Linked DNA regions of Homo sapiens: region 1 is linked to region 2. The links are contacts of gene promoters, found by promoter capture Hi-C in human tissues and cell types (Jung and others, 2019). All regions are on one chromosome and are shown on one strand. Each heading gives the region's core, a stretch centred on a gene start or on the middle of the fragment in contact. The rest is flanking DNA. Distances are from core to core; before and after follow the strand shown. Region 1 has its middle 190 kb from the start of MIR8054. Region 2 holds the start of CCDC179 (coiled-coil domain containing 179).

Region 1 (6,298 bases), core at 320-2,819, 370 kb before region 2:
AATGTGACTAAAGATCTAAAATGGGGAAATCATTATGGAATTACCCATGCAAGCCCATTGTAATGACATGTGTCCTTATTAAGAGGGAAATGGAATGGTGAAAGGCTCAATAGTTTCTAACTAAGAAATGAACAGGAAAAAAATGTCTATTGTAATCACTATAGTTCAACATAGAACTGAAAGTACTAGGCACTGCAATAAATCAAAAGAAAGATATAAGACATACAGAAGTATCCATTGTTTCTCACTATAAAAGGAAGAAAATTTTTTTCTCTATTCGCAGATGACACAATTGTCTATGTAAAACATCTCAAGGAATGCTTTAAAATTTTCCTACAATGAATAAGTGAGTTTAGCAAAGTCACAAGTGTTTCACATTTCTACTAACAATGAACATATAAAAACCGAAATTAAAAACATAGTACCATTTAAAATCATGGCAAATAAAATTAAATATTTAGGAATATAATTATCAAATTATGTACAGAATCTGTATGCTAAAAATTACAAAATGTAGTGAAAGAAATTAAAGAAGATTAAAATAAATGAAGAGACATATCATGCTCATAGATTGAAAGCTTCAACATAATAAAGTTTTAATTCTCTCTAAATTGATGTCAAGATTTATTGAAATCCTATCAAAATCCATTCAAATATTGTAGATATTGACTGGAGTATTCTAAAATTTATATTGAAAGGCACAGATCCCAATGTAGCTTAAATATCTTTATAAATAAGAATAAAGTGAGAGAAATCACTGTACCAGATATTCCAGCTTATTATATAGCTTTGGTAATCAAAACGGCCTGGTACTGGCAGAGGAATAGTCACATTATAAATAGAACACACTTTAAAACCTAGAAATATATTCATACAAATATAGTCAACTGTTTTTTGGCAAATATGGAAAAGCACTTCAATAGAGGAAGGGTAGACCTTTTAAAAAATGGCACTAAAGCAATTGAACAACCATAGACAAAATATTGAACCTCGCCAGTGTTTCACACCTTATACAAAAAAACTAAAATTAATTATGGAATTAAATGTAAAACATACAATTATAAAACTTAAAAAGGGGGCAAAATAATTGCAATTCAGGAAGATCTAAAGAAAGAGTTCTTAGACTTGAAACCAAAAATATAATTCATGAAAGAAAAAAATGGTAAATTGAACTTTAGTAAAGTTTAAACTTTTGCCCTGTGGAAGATTATGTTAAAAATATGAAGAGACAAGCTTCAGACTAGTAGAATACATTTACAAGCCATATATCTGACAAAGAACTAAAATGTCAAATATATAAATAACTCTTGAAACTGAACGATTTTTTTAAAAATTAAGAAATACGCAAAGGATATGAACAGAACTTTTGCCAAAGATGATGCACAGATGACAAATAAGCACACAAAACATGTTCAATGTCATTAGCCACTAGATAAACGCAACTTAAAACCACAGTGAGATATCACTAATATCCCATCAGAATGGCTAAAACTAAAAAAAGATGGCAAATATTGGCAAGGATATGGAGAAACAAGATTACTCATACAATGCTGGTGGGACTGTAAAAATAAAAGAGTAACCCTGGAAAACCATTTGACAGCTTATTATGAAATAAACATGCAATTCCCATATAACTCAGCAATTATATTATTGGGCATTTATCCCAGATAAATAAATACATGTACTAGAGGCCAAAAGAAAACTTCCCCATCACCCTCTGAAGGGTCACTGAAAAATTAACTTACAAAAAGCAGATTAACAGAAGAAAGACCATACAAATGTATTAATGTGCATGGGAAACTTATCAAAATAGCAAACTGTAAAGAAAAAGAAGATAGCTGACACTTTTATACTGTAAGTTCTCAGAAAATAATGCCCCAGAATGAAAGCTTCAGGAGTAACTCTCTCTGAACTCATGCCCTTTTGTCTTCAGCTTTTTGCCTCCTTGAGACTAGCCATAAGAATTAGAATCATTCTTCTCCAAGGTGGATCACAGAAACCAGAAACCCTTTCACCACAAATCAGCCATAAAACCTAAAAATATTGCTCCAATTTCAACATCACAACAACCTTTCTGTGTATTAATTGGTGAAAAATAAGTTATCTGTCCTACCTTGTTTGATTGTAGGATATAAGGACCCCATTACAGAGAGGGTCTTCTCCATACCCAGAAGAAAGGAATGCTACACAGAGAGGCCAAGAAAAATCTGAACAGACAGGCCTTGCTGGATTTTCCCACTCAGTCTATCAGTATTAGATCATACCCATTTTTTTCTAGTCATAGCTCTATACGGCTGCCCATACTTCGTTAAACCTAGCACAAAAATGGACAGTTTATCCTGTATCTTTGGGTCTTCAATGTGAAAGCTCCTGTAAAATTATCATCAAATAAATTTGTGTGGTTTTCTGCTATTAACCTGTCTTTTGTCAATGATTTTTCAACAAACCTTCAAAGGGCAGAGGGGAAGTTTTTTCTCAGCCCCTACAATACCATCTTGAGGCTACAGAAAAAAATGTAAGTTTAGATTGTGACAAAACAGGTTATGGTCGCAAAACAGGTTATGGTAACAAAATGGGTTGTGGTGTCAAGACAAGTTATGGGAAAGAGAGAAGAAGAGGCTTGGCTTCCAAAGGTGGTCTTGCTATGTACATGAAACCTTACAGGTAGCAGCCCTCAGAGAGAATAGATGGTAAATCTTTCTTTCAGACCTTTAAAGGTGTCAGACTCAGTTCATCTTTCTTAGATCTTGACAACGGGGAATGTCAGAGAAAGCCTGACTACATCAACGCAAATTTTCTCTACAAATGCAAATACCCTCCACAAAAGACAGCTTTTCAGATGTTGCTGCTTTTCTAGCCTTTCTGAATAGCCATCTTAAAATATTTTAGGGTAAAATATTTTGGTTTAATGTTCATACAAAAATCTGGTGTTTATCAAGAAACCACTAGCTGTAACTAGAGTGCTTTAAAAGCACTAACTCATTTAATCTTCACAGCAATCCTATGAGATGGGTGATCCTTTCCCTCATTGTACAAATGAGAAAAATTTGAGAAAGACTGTCTTGAGGCTCAGAAACCAATGCCTCAAAATATGGCACTATAACATACTGAACTTAAGAAGCCTCAAGGTCTCCCTGACTTCCCCTCCTTTTTTCTATCTCTCAATCTTCTGTCTATCCCAAAGCACAGGAAGAAGTTGTTCTCTGAGGTTTCCTCATCTGCCTAAAGTCTAGACCTGCAAAAGAAGACAACATGTACCTCTGATCTCTTCCCAGAGTTTTCATTAACTGAGCTCATATTGCAGGAAAAAAAGATCCTTCCATAGGGTCTGCTCTTTGAAAAGTTTGCTATTTTTTAGTTAATTCCACAATGTCTTCCTTATAATTTCATTACTTCATTGAGGGCTTATATCAATAACTTTGGAATAAAGCTCAGCAAAGACTTGAACTTGTCTCATAAGTTTGGATTAGGGTTTGTTCAAGGGCACAACACTTCTACAAAACAAGTTATAAATTTCCATCTTATCTAATTCAAGCCCACTGAATTTCCCTAAAAATTATTTACTATCCCCCTAAACTTATGCAGACTTCCCCATATCCCTTTCCCCTAAGAAGAAGGGTATATACCATCTATGCTCCATTGCGTGGTGGGGAAATCCTCTGTGAGTTTCCCTCTATGCATGCTAATACATTTGTATGACTTTTCTGCTATAAATCTGCCCTTTGAGTATTGATTTTTTATCAAACCTTCAGAAGGCAAAGGGAAGTTTTCCCTTGGCCCTATAACTGCATAACTATTAAGCCAGGATTTGAAAGTAGGCAGACAAGGCTCAGAGCTCACACACGTTGGTAATGCTTTACATTGCCTTCTTTCAATTAGTCCAAATATTGTTTTCCTCTCCCTGATGTCGTTAGCAAGCAATTCCATCATTTACTTTAGCATGCTCTAGACACGTATATGTCCTGCAAGCAAAATAACTGACAAATGAATGTCCAGGAGCAAATGGTGAGAAATTCAAAGAGCTCACATGACTATAGAGCATTCCCATTTGTAAACACGAGCACAGGCTATGGAGCCAGACACATCTGAGTTCAAATCTTCACCATTCTCGGTGACTGTATAATCTGCATTAGTAAGGACTACTTATGTTGTGTTTAGAAAGTCAACTTTTTAAATAAAGGGTTTTATTAGAAACATACTGATGCTTCACAGGACCAGGAGGCAAAGATACTAGGCCGACTCCAGCATTTCAGGGACTAGAATAGGGGATTTGATATCATTAGGATGCTCTTTTCTCTCCATCTTTTCTTTCTTTTCCTCTTTCTCTTCAAACCATCATGGGGCATGGAAAAAGCACCTAGTTGTTCTGAGGCTTAGAATTAATGGAATTGAAAAAATGGGGGAAACTTTCTTCTTACCTCCAACAAACATAGCCAGTGAAATGATTTTGAATGCCCCTCCTTTTCCATCCAAACAGTCAATTCGTGTGAGCAAAGGAGTCTACTAGCATTTTTCAAAAGGGGAAATCTATCCTCTGAAGGATGGGAATAGTGGGAATTTGCCAAGGAGATAAACACAATAGCTACCAAGATGTCTATTGTTTTAAAAATTTAAAGTCATTTAATTCTAGCTATGTCATATATTAAATTATACGTAAAGCAACTGGCACACTAAAATGCTGAACAACTACTAGATTTTCATGTCCCTTCCCCATTTCTCAGAAGTTCAAGACAACATTCAACAAAGAAGAGGAAATCACTAGGTGAGAATGGTGTAAAGAGGTGGAACTACATGCTTTTTCCTGCTCTTCCAAGGCTTGAACTAAGTATCATGCACCAAGAAACGGACCAAGAAGCCACCATTCTGTGAAGCTTTTCTTTGAGCCTTTTGTCTGAGTTTATATGTGGACAATTGGAGTTCCATCATACTAGTTACAGTTATTGATTTGCATGTCTTTCTCCCTTGATAAAAAGTGAACTTCTGAAAGGCAGGAAGCATGATTTATTCATTCTTGCATCCTTCATAGCTGTGGCTGGCACATGAGAGGTGCTCCATAAAATAAGTAAATGAATGAGTTCAGGTACCATGAATTTATGACTGTGGTTCAGTGTTTATTGAACTGAATATAGACAAGTGATATTGAGACTTTATGATTTGTCAGGCATGGTCCTAAGTGTTTTGTATCTATCATCCCATTTGATCTTTATAATACTTTGAAATATTTTTCATTCTTCTCTTCCTCTTGCCTCTGTGCTTTATAGAATAAGAAATTGAGGATCAAGTGATAGTTTCCCAAAATGATCCAATTTAAGTGAGGATTCTGGTCTCTTGTTCAGTATGTTATTTGTCTCAATGGCACCCACTTCATAGACAGAAATATATAGTATATGTGTGTGGGTGTGTGGGTGTGGAGTGGGTGGATGTATGTGTATGGCAGCACACGCAGCCACAGACTTTGTTGTTGAACACCATGTATAGTTTATTGATCTGAGAGCAGCTGTCCAGATTAGGTAATATTTTCTCTCTTTGGCAGGGGGTTGTTAGCCATCTGGGGGTTTCCAGGTAGTTGTCATGCTATTGCTATTCCTCTCACTTGTTATCTTGTGATGTTTTACTGAAATGCATGTCTGTATTAAAGGTTATCTTCTTCGTAAGAGGCATATATAAACTTGTGCCAGGTAGGATGTCTTGTAGCATTTAGCTCAGGATCCTTGCCACCCAACAGTCAGTTACCTCAGCTGTGGAGAGGGAAATGCCAACCTGAAGAGCAGAATCTGCTGGTCGCTGTGAAATAAAGTTGGAAAGAGTCTCTTCTGCTCAAAAGCTGGGATGTTCTTGTTCCCTCAGAGACCTTCTATCTCTTGGTAACAGACTTTCACAAACTAATTGCAGAAGAAAGAGACAGATAAACCTAGACTCCACATGTGTATATTTGTAATGTGAAGTATGCCTTTTAAATAATGGGGATGTTTGAGTCCCTGATCCAAGACACTCCTTTCCAGATGCTAGACACCAGGATAGGCAAATTGTCCATGAGAAGATTACTTGGTAAGCCTAGACTCAGAATGGATTAAAGGTAATATTTCCCTAAAGTCAAAGAGCACCAGTCATCCCCTACTAAACTGTCAGAGAATGTCAGTCTAGAGAATGTTCATTAATTTACTTTGTTATTGTGTTTATTTCCCAGTGTATTCTCCCCTTTGTAGTACTGGATATACTGACTAAATTTCATCTTCGCACCCTATCTTTCTAAGAAGTTAACTTCCTTTCTTTTCACTTGTTTCTTCTCAAATCAGGC
Region 2 (6,456 bases), core at 234-2,733:
CAATATAGAGAAGTTAACAAGGAGAGGAACAATCTGTAGAGCTAGATCTGAGGAGGCTCCTAGGAGGGAAATGGCATGCAAATGCAAATGGATAGATTTATTTGAGGCAACAGAAGGGATACCAATTTTTTTTTCCATTTCGACAGGGTTACAGGGAAAAGGATAATGTGGATATTGACAAGGTTATAGGATTTTAGGTGGTATTGAGGTAGCCCCAGTGAGGGCTTCAAAAGCAATGGTAGCATAGCACATAATTAGGAGCACATGATCTAAGGGCCAACCCTGGATTTAAATTCCAGCTCACCCTCTTACTAATAGCGTAACTTCAAGAAAGCAATTTAACATGCTAGCGCCTTGTTTCCCAGTGATTATAATCATGCCCTTACCCACCTTGAGTGGTCTAAAGACTTGATCAGTTAACACATATAAATTCATGTAACAGTGCTGAGCATAGTAAGCTCTATACATGTTCACCAGCATCAGAGTGTGAAGCACGGATTGTCCCACTTCTACTGGAAGTGCCTGAGTGTTGGTGGATTCAGAGATTTTAATAGAAGACAATTTGAAGGGAATACTGCAGAGCACAAAAAAAGCTGGTGCAACATAAAAGTCTTAAGCAGCTTTGAGGACCCAGTTTAAATTGGGGGTCACGGCCGGGCCTGGTGGCTCACGCCTGTAATTTCAGCACTTTGGGAGGGCAAGACGGGTGGATCACCTGAGGTCAGGAGTTTGAGAACAGCCTCCAATATGGTAAAACCCTGTCTCTACTAAAACTACAAAATCATTAGCCAGGCATTGTGGCATGCGCCTGCAGTCCCAGCTACTCGGGAGGCTGAGATGGGAGAATTGCTTGAACCCTCGAGGTGTAGGTAGCAGTGAGGTGGAGGTAGCAGTGAGCTAAGATTGTAGCACTGCACTCCAGCCTGGGCGACAGAGAGACTTGGCCAAAAAAAAAAAGAAAAAAGAAAATAAATAAATAAATAGATCTGGGGTCACAAATATGTATTCCAGCCATCTTCAAGCTTCTCCTCACTTCATCTGGTATAGATAGATGGGAAGAAGGCAGACAGTTGGGTCAGCCCAACTAGAAGCTGTGAAGGAACAACAATGAGGTGGTGGAATTGAGAACCCTAACAATAGATAGACAGTCTGAAGTAAGAGAACATGGAGACTAAGCTAGATATGTTAACAAATGAAAGGGGCTTTATAAAGAGAGAGACTAGAGAGATGAAGGGTAGAAAAGGTGGGAAATTGGTATTCTGCAATTTTCTGAGGAAGAAGGATAGGATATAAGGAATTATGGTAAACTGACTTCCATAACTCAAAGACACTGCAGACAACTTGAGGCCTTGCCTTCCCTGCACTGGACTGGAATACAACTGGGGAAAGGGTGGGGCCCATAGCAGGGAGAAGAATAAAGAGAATAGTGATGGAACTGGGTGGGGCAGGGCTTGAAGGCTGTGGGTGTGGGGCCCCATAATCATTTGGTCCAGGACAGGCAGTAGGCGTCAGGGGGCGCCCTAAGGCTCCACGGCATGTGCCTGTATTGCTGGGACATCGAGCCTTCCCAAGTCAACCCTGTGAGTCTGCTGGGGCCTACAACCTCAACTCTGCCACTCTGTCCTGTGCCTTGAGCTCCAGGCCACTGTGGCCTTGGCCATGGTGCTTCTAACTCTTGTAAATGTGGTTTGGTGCTGGGGGTTGGGAAATTCCAGGTGATGTAGACAGACTACATCCTGACTGCTGGACCCCTCTGAAACAAGAAAAAGCTCCACCCACTGTGTGCTTAGGGGTCAGGTACATCACCTGTATGTTGACTGCCCCATTGGCCTGCCCTAGGAGGTGGAGTGGAAATTACAGAAGTAGGGAGCAGGATAAAGTTCTCAATTGCCAGATGTGGAACAGATTGCTCTTGGGTCTTCTGGTTAAAAGATTGGATCAAAACGAGTGAAGGAGGAGTTATTTAAGGTACAATCAAGAAATAGAGGAAGTGGTGAGAATCTCGAAAACTAACAGCCAAGCTCCCTGTGCTTCAGAAAACCATACGATCTCAATCACATCACCAATTACTCCTAGGCTTTGAAACCAGATTGAAGACTAGATTGCTCAATAGCACCACTGAAGTCCTGTAGAAGCAGAAACATGCATTTTTCGATTTCTCGTACATTCTTTCCCTCCCGAATATATCTCTATACTCTGCCTTTTATCTGTAAGGTGGTTCACAGCTGGTTCTTTTTTATCATAATATCGTCTCCATCTTCCACCACAATTTTTATCTTAGATGTTTTTATTCTGAACTTGACTTTTTTCTTTTTGTTTTTTTAACCTGCTTCTTATAGTTGAAATGATTCATATAATACATAAATTTAAAAGTAGCATAGGCTTCCTATTATAATAATTAATTTACTGTTTTTAATGACTTTTTTGTGTGAATGTGTTTTAATTTTGTTTATTATATAGGAAGGACCAAGACAACATCATCCTTCAGAGGTCACTGAGCGGCAGGTAATGTTTAAATAAAGAACTAGGTTCTGGTTGTTTAAACATTGTGCTTGTAACTTGTTCCTTTATGTAGTGGTCCCTAACATAATAGAACTTGTATTAAGTAGACACTTCAGTATATTTCTTGGGACTCTGGGATCTAATGACTACTATTGGAATGGGTCTTAACTAGGGTAAACTAAATGGCTTATGTTATTTTTTAATGTAACATTTGACACATATACAAAAATAGATGTGGCAGATATAATTTATAAATTACAATATGCCTCCCATTTAAGGATTAAAATATTAGGTATTTCTGAATCCAGCTAGGGAATGCTTTTCTATTCTACCTCCTAAGGTCTCTCCCAGAGGTGACCTCCATCTTGAATTTTAGCTACATCAATCTCTTCCTCTTCTTTAATAGTTTGTTACATAGGTGTCTCTATAAGTGCACTATTTGCTTTTGCTTGGTTTTGAACTTTATAAACATAGGATCACACAAAATTTAGTGTATGATTTACTCTTTTTTCTCAATATTATTTCCTAAGATTTATCTACATTGCTGTATATAGTTTCTTTATTTTCACTGCTGTTCAATATTTTGTCATGGAACATATCACAGTTCATTAATCCTTTCTCTTGTTTATGGACATTGTGTTATTTTTACATTTTCCTAAAATGAATAGTACTATTGCAAACATTCTAGTACACATCTTCTTGCCCCATGCACAAGAATGCCATTTGATTATTTAGGCAGGAGTGTAATGGTTGAATCATAGGAAAAGCAAATTTTTTATTGTTAGAAAGTAGTGCCACACTGTTTTCAAAGCAATTGTTCAAGTTTATATTCTGTTATCAGTGGATTTTTTAAAAAGTTGGTTTTCAAAGCAATTGTACCAATTGATACTTCACTGGAAGTGGATAAAAAAGTTATTGTTATTCATATCCTTTCTATTCTATTACTGTATTTCATTATCTTAAAAGCATTCTAGTTTGATCTCCTAGGTATCTGCTACTTGTAGACGCCACACAATGGTGGCATAAAAAGCTATGTGTGTCATGCAACATTTCAAAGGAGTGAATAATTGTTTTCATATTTCTATAGAGAAAATTCCCTAGGTGTCCTTAATGAACATTATTTTTAAAGCAAAAGTAAGCACACTAATCCATGAGTCTGGATCTACTTAAGTGTATGCAGTGGTAAGATGAGAATCAAGAATAGTCTTATTTGAAAACCCTACTGATGCTCCAATGTGGTTTTCTTCACCTATGAACCATACATTTGAATGAAAGAGATTTTTCGCCCTATTTCTATGTAGTTATGTGAACCGTTTGCAGTGGTGGTGTTTACCTTTTTTATTGACACAAACCAAAAATGTAATCAGAATGTTACCTTTATATGTTACAAAAAAGTATGATTTTTCTTTCATTTTAATTTTTCTAAAGCTTGCAAATAAACGTATTCAGAATATGCAACACCTAAAGAAAGAGAAGAGGAGACTGAATAAAAGGTTTTCAAGGCCTTCTCCTATTCCAGAACCAGGACTCCTAGTAAGTATAGAGGTTTCACTGAAATTAACAGATCATTAAATGCAACTGATATCATCATTTTAATTCATGTAATATTCACTATAAATTTTCTTTTTCCCTTTCTCTTTGAGAAATTTCTAATTTCAGTCTTAAAAGTCTTATCTCATCTATTATTTAAATATCCTCTGCTGTCATCTCCTGGAGGTGATATGGTTTAATGAAAAGAGGATTATCTTTGAAACCAGGTTGTTCTGGACTCCACTTCTTGTTTTGCCATATGTTAGATGACTACATAAGGTTAATCACTTAAATCTTTTGGCTATATATCTGAAAATTTATTGCCAAATTTAAGGTCACATTAGTTCTCTTATGTATTATCTCCTAGAAGTTTTGCAGTTGTGTATGTTACATTTAGGTTTATGATCCATAGCGAGTTAATGTTACTGAAAGGTGTCAGTGTCCAGATTATTATCATTATCATTTTCATGTAGATGTCAAGTTCTAGTACCATTTGTTGAAAAGACTATCTTTTCTCTATTGTATTGCCTTTGCTTCCTTATCAAAGATTTATTGACTATATATTTGTGTGGGTTTATTTCCGAGCTCGCTATTCTGTCTCGTTGAATCCTGTTTTTCATCAATACCATACTGTCTCGAAAACTATAGATTTACAATAAGTCTAGAAATCAGGTAGTGTCAGTCCTCTTCTGTTCTTTTCCCTCAATGTTGTGTTGGCTTTTCTGGAACTTTTCCCTTTCAATATAAAATTTAGAATCAGTTTGTTGAAATCTACAAAGTAACTTGCTAGAATTTTTATTGGGATTGTGCTGGATCCAAAGGATCAGTTTGGAAATAACTGATATCTTAACAATATTGAGTCTTCCTATAAATTAACATAGAATTTCTCCTATTTATTTAGATCATCTTTTTTACCTGAGTTTTATAATTTTCCTCATCCAGATTTTATACATATTTTCTTGGATTTATGCCTAAGTATTTTATTTTTTGTTGCTAATATAAATGGGAGGCTGTTTTTCACTTTGCATTCAAATTGTTCATTGCTGGCATAAAGGAAATCAATTGAATTTTCTGTATTAAACTTACATCCTCTAATCTTACTATAATTGTTTATTACTTCCAAGAGTTTTTTGTTTGTTTTTTATTGTTATTGTTGATTCTTTGAGATTTTCTACTTAGTCAGGTCGTCTGTGAACGAAGACACAGAACAATTTATTTCTTTCTTCTCAAACTGTATAACATTTATTTCCTTTTTTTGTCTTACTGCATTAGCTATGTCTTCCATTATGATGTTGAACAGAAGTGAGAAGGTACATTTTTGCCTTTTTCCTAATATTAACTGAAAAAAATCTGGTTTCTTGACAGTGACTATAATGTGAGGTTTAGGTATTTTAGAGATGTTCCTTATGAAGTGAAAGACATCCCTCTCTACACCTAGTACTGAGAGCTTTTATCATAAATGGGTACTGGATTTTGTCAAATTCTTATTATACATTGTTGATATGATCATATGATTTTTCTCCTTTAGCCTTTTGACGTGATGAATTTCATTAAATAATTTTAAGATGTTGAAACAGCCTTACATTCTTGGGATAAGTCTCAGATTGTGTATAATTATTTTTACACATGTTTGGATCAATTTGCTAATATTTTGTTGAGAATTTTTACATCTATGTTCATGAGAGGTATTGGTCTGTCATTTTCCTGTCTTTTAATATCTTTTTCTGGTTTTGGTATTAGGGTAATGCTCACCTTACAGAATGAGTCAAGAAGTATTCCCTCTGCTTCTATTTTCTGCAAGATATTGTAAAGAATTAGTAGTTTCTTTTTTAAATGTTTGGTAATCAGTGAAACCATCTGGGTTTAGTATTTTCTATTTTGAAAGATTGGTAATTATTAATTAATTTTTTAAATAGATAATAACCTTATTTAGATTATCTATGTCTTGTGTGAATTTTAGTAGATTGAATCCTTTTTAGATTTAGTCAGTTTTATCTAAGTTTTCAAGTTTATGAGCATAGAGCTATTGGTTATGTTCTTTTATTATTCTTTTAATGTTCATGGGATTGGCAGTTATGGTCTCTTATTTATGATGTTAGTAATTTGTGTCTTTTTTGGTTAGTCTGGCAAAAGTTTATCAATTTTACTAATATTTTCAAAGAATTATATTTTGGTTTCATTAATTTTCTCTATTGCATTCTGTTTTCAATTTCACAGATTTCTGCTCTAGTTTTTATGTCTTTTCTACTGCTTACTTTGGGTTTAATTTGCTCTTCTTTTTCTGGTTTCCTAAGGTGAAATCTTAGACTATTGAGTAAAGAGCTACTTCTTTTCTAATATATTAATTTAATGCTATAAAATTTCTCTAAGCATCACTTTCACTATATCCCATAAATTTTAATAAATCATATTTTCGTTTTCATT

Evidence for each region. The method cuts DNA at HindIII sites, captures the fragments that hold promoters and counts their contacts. A contact is called where the count stands out against the background at its distance.
Region 1: a fragment that was not itself captured here is called in contact with the fragment with the promoter of CCDC179 in region 2 in 1 of the 25 tissues and cell types used here (mesendoderm cells).

Annotation. Positions count from the first base shown.
Region 1 is chr11:23,228,481-23,234,778 of GRCh38, reverse strand. No RefSeq gene overlaps it. Among named protein-coding and RNA genes, the nearest start is that of MIR8054, 190 kb to the left of the region's middle. The HindIII fragment of the contact is 3,622 bases long and covers 1-3,380 here.
Region 2 is chr11:22,855,501-22,861,956 of GRCh38, reverse strand. It overlaps CCDC179 (coiled-coil domain containing 179), which reads left to right and starts at 1,483. Exons shown (of 4, transcript NM_001195637.2): 1 at 1,483-1,580; 2 at 2,461-2,505; 3 at 3,931-4,035. The coding sequence starts at 1,536. All of the region lies in intron 3 of LINC02718 (long intergenic non-protein coding RNA 2718), which reads right to left. The HindIII fragment of the contact is 9,229 bases long and covers 1-6,360 here.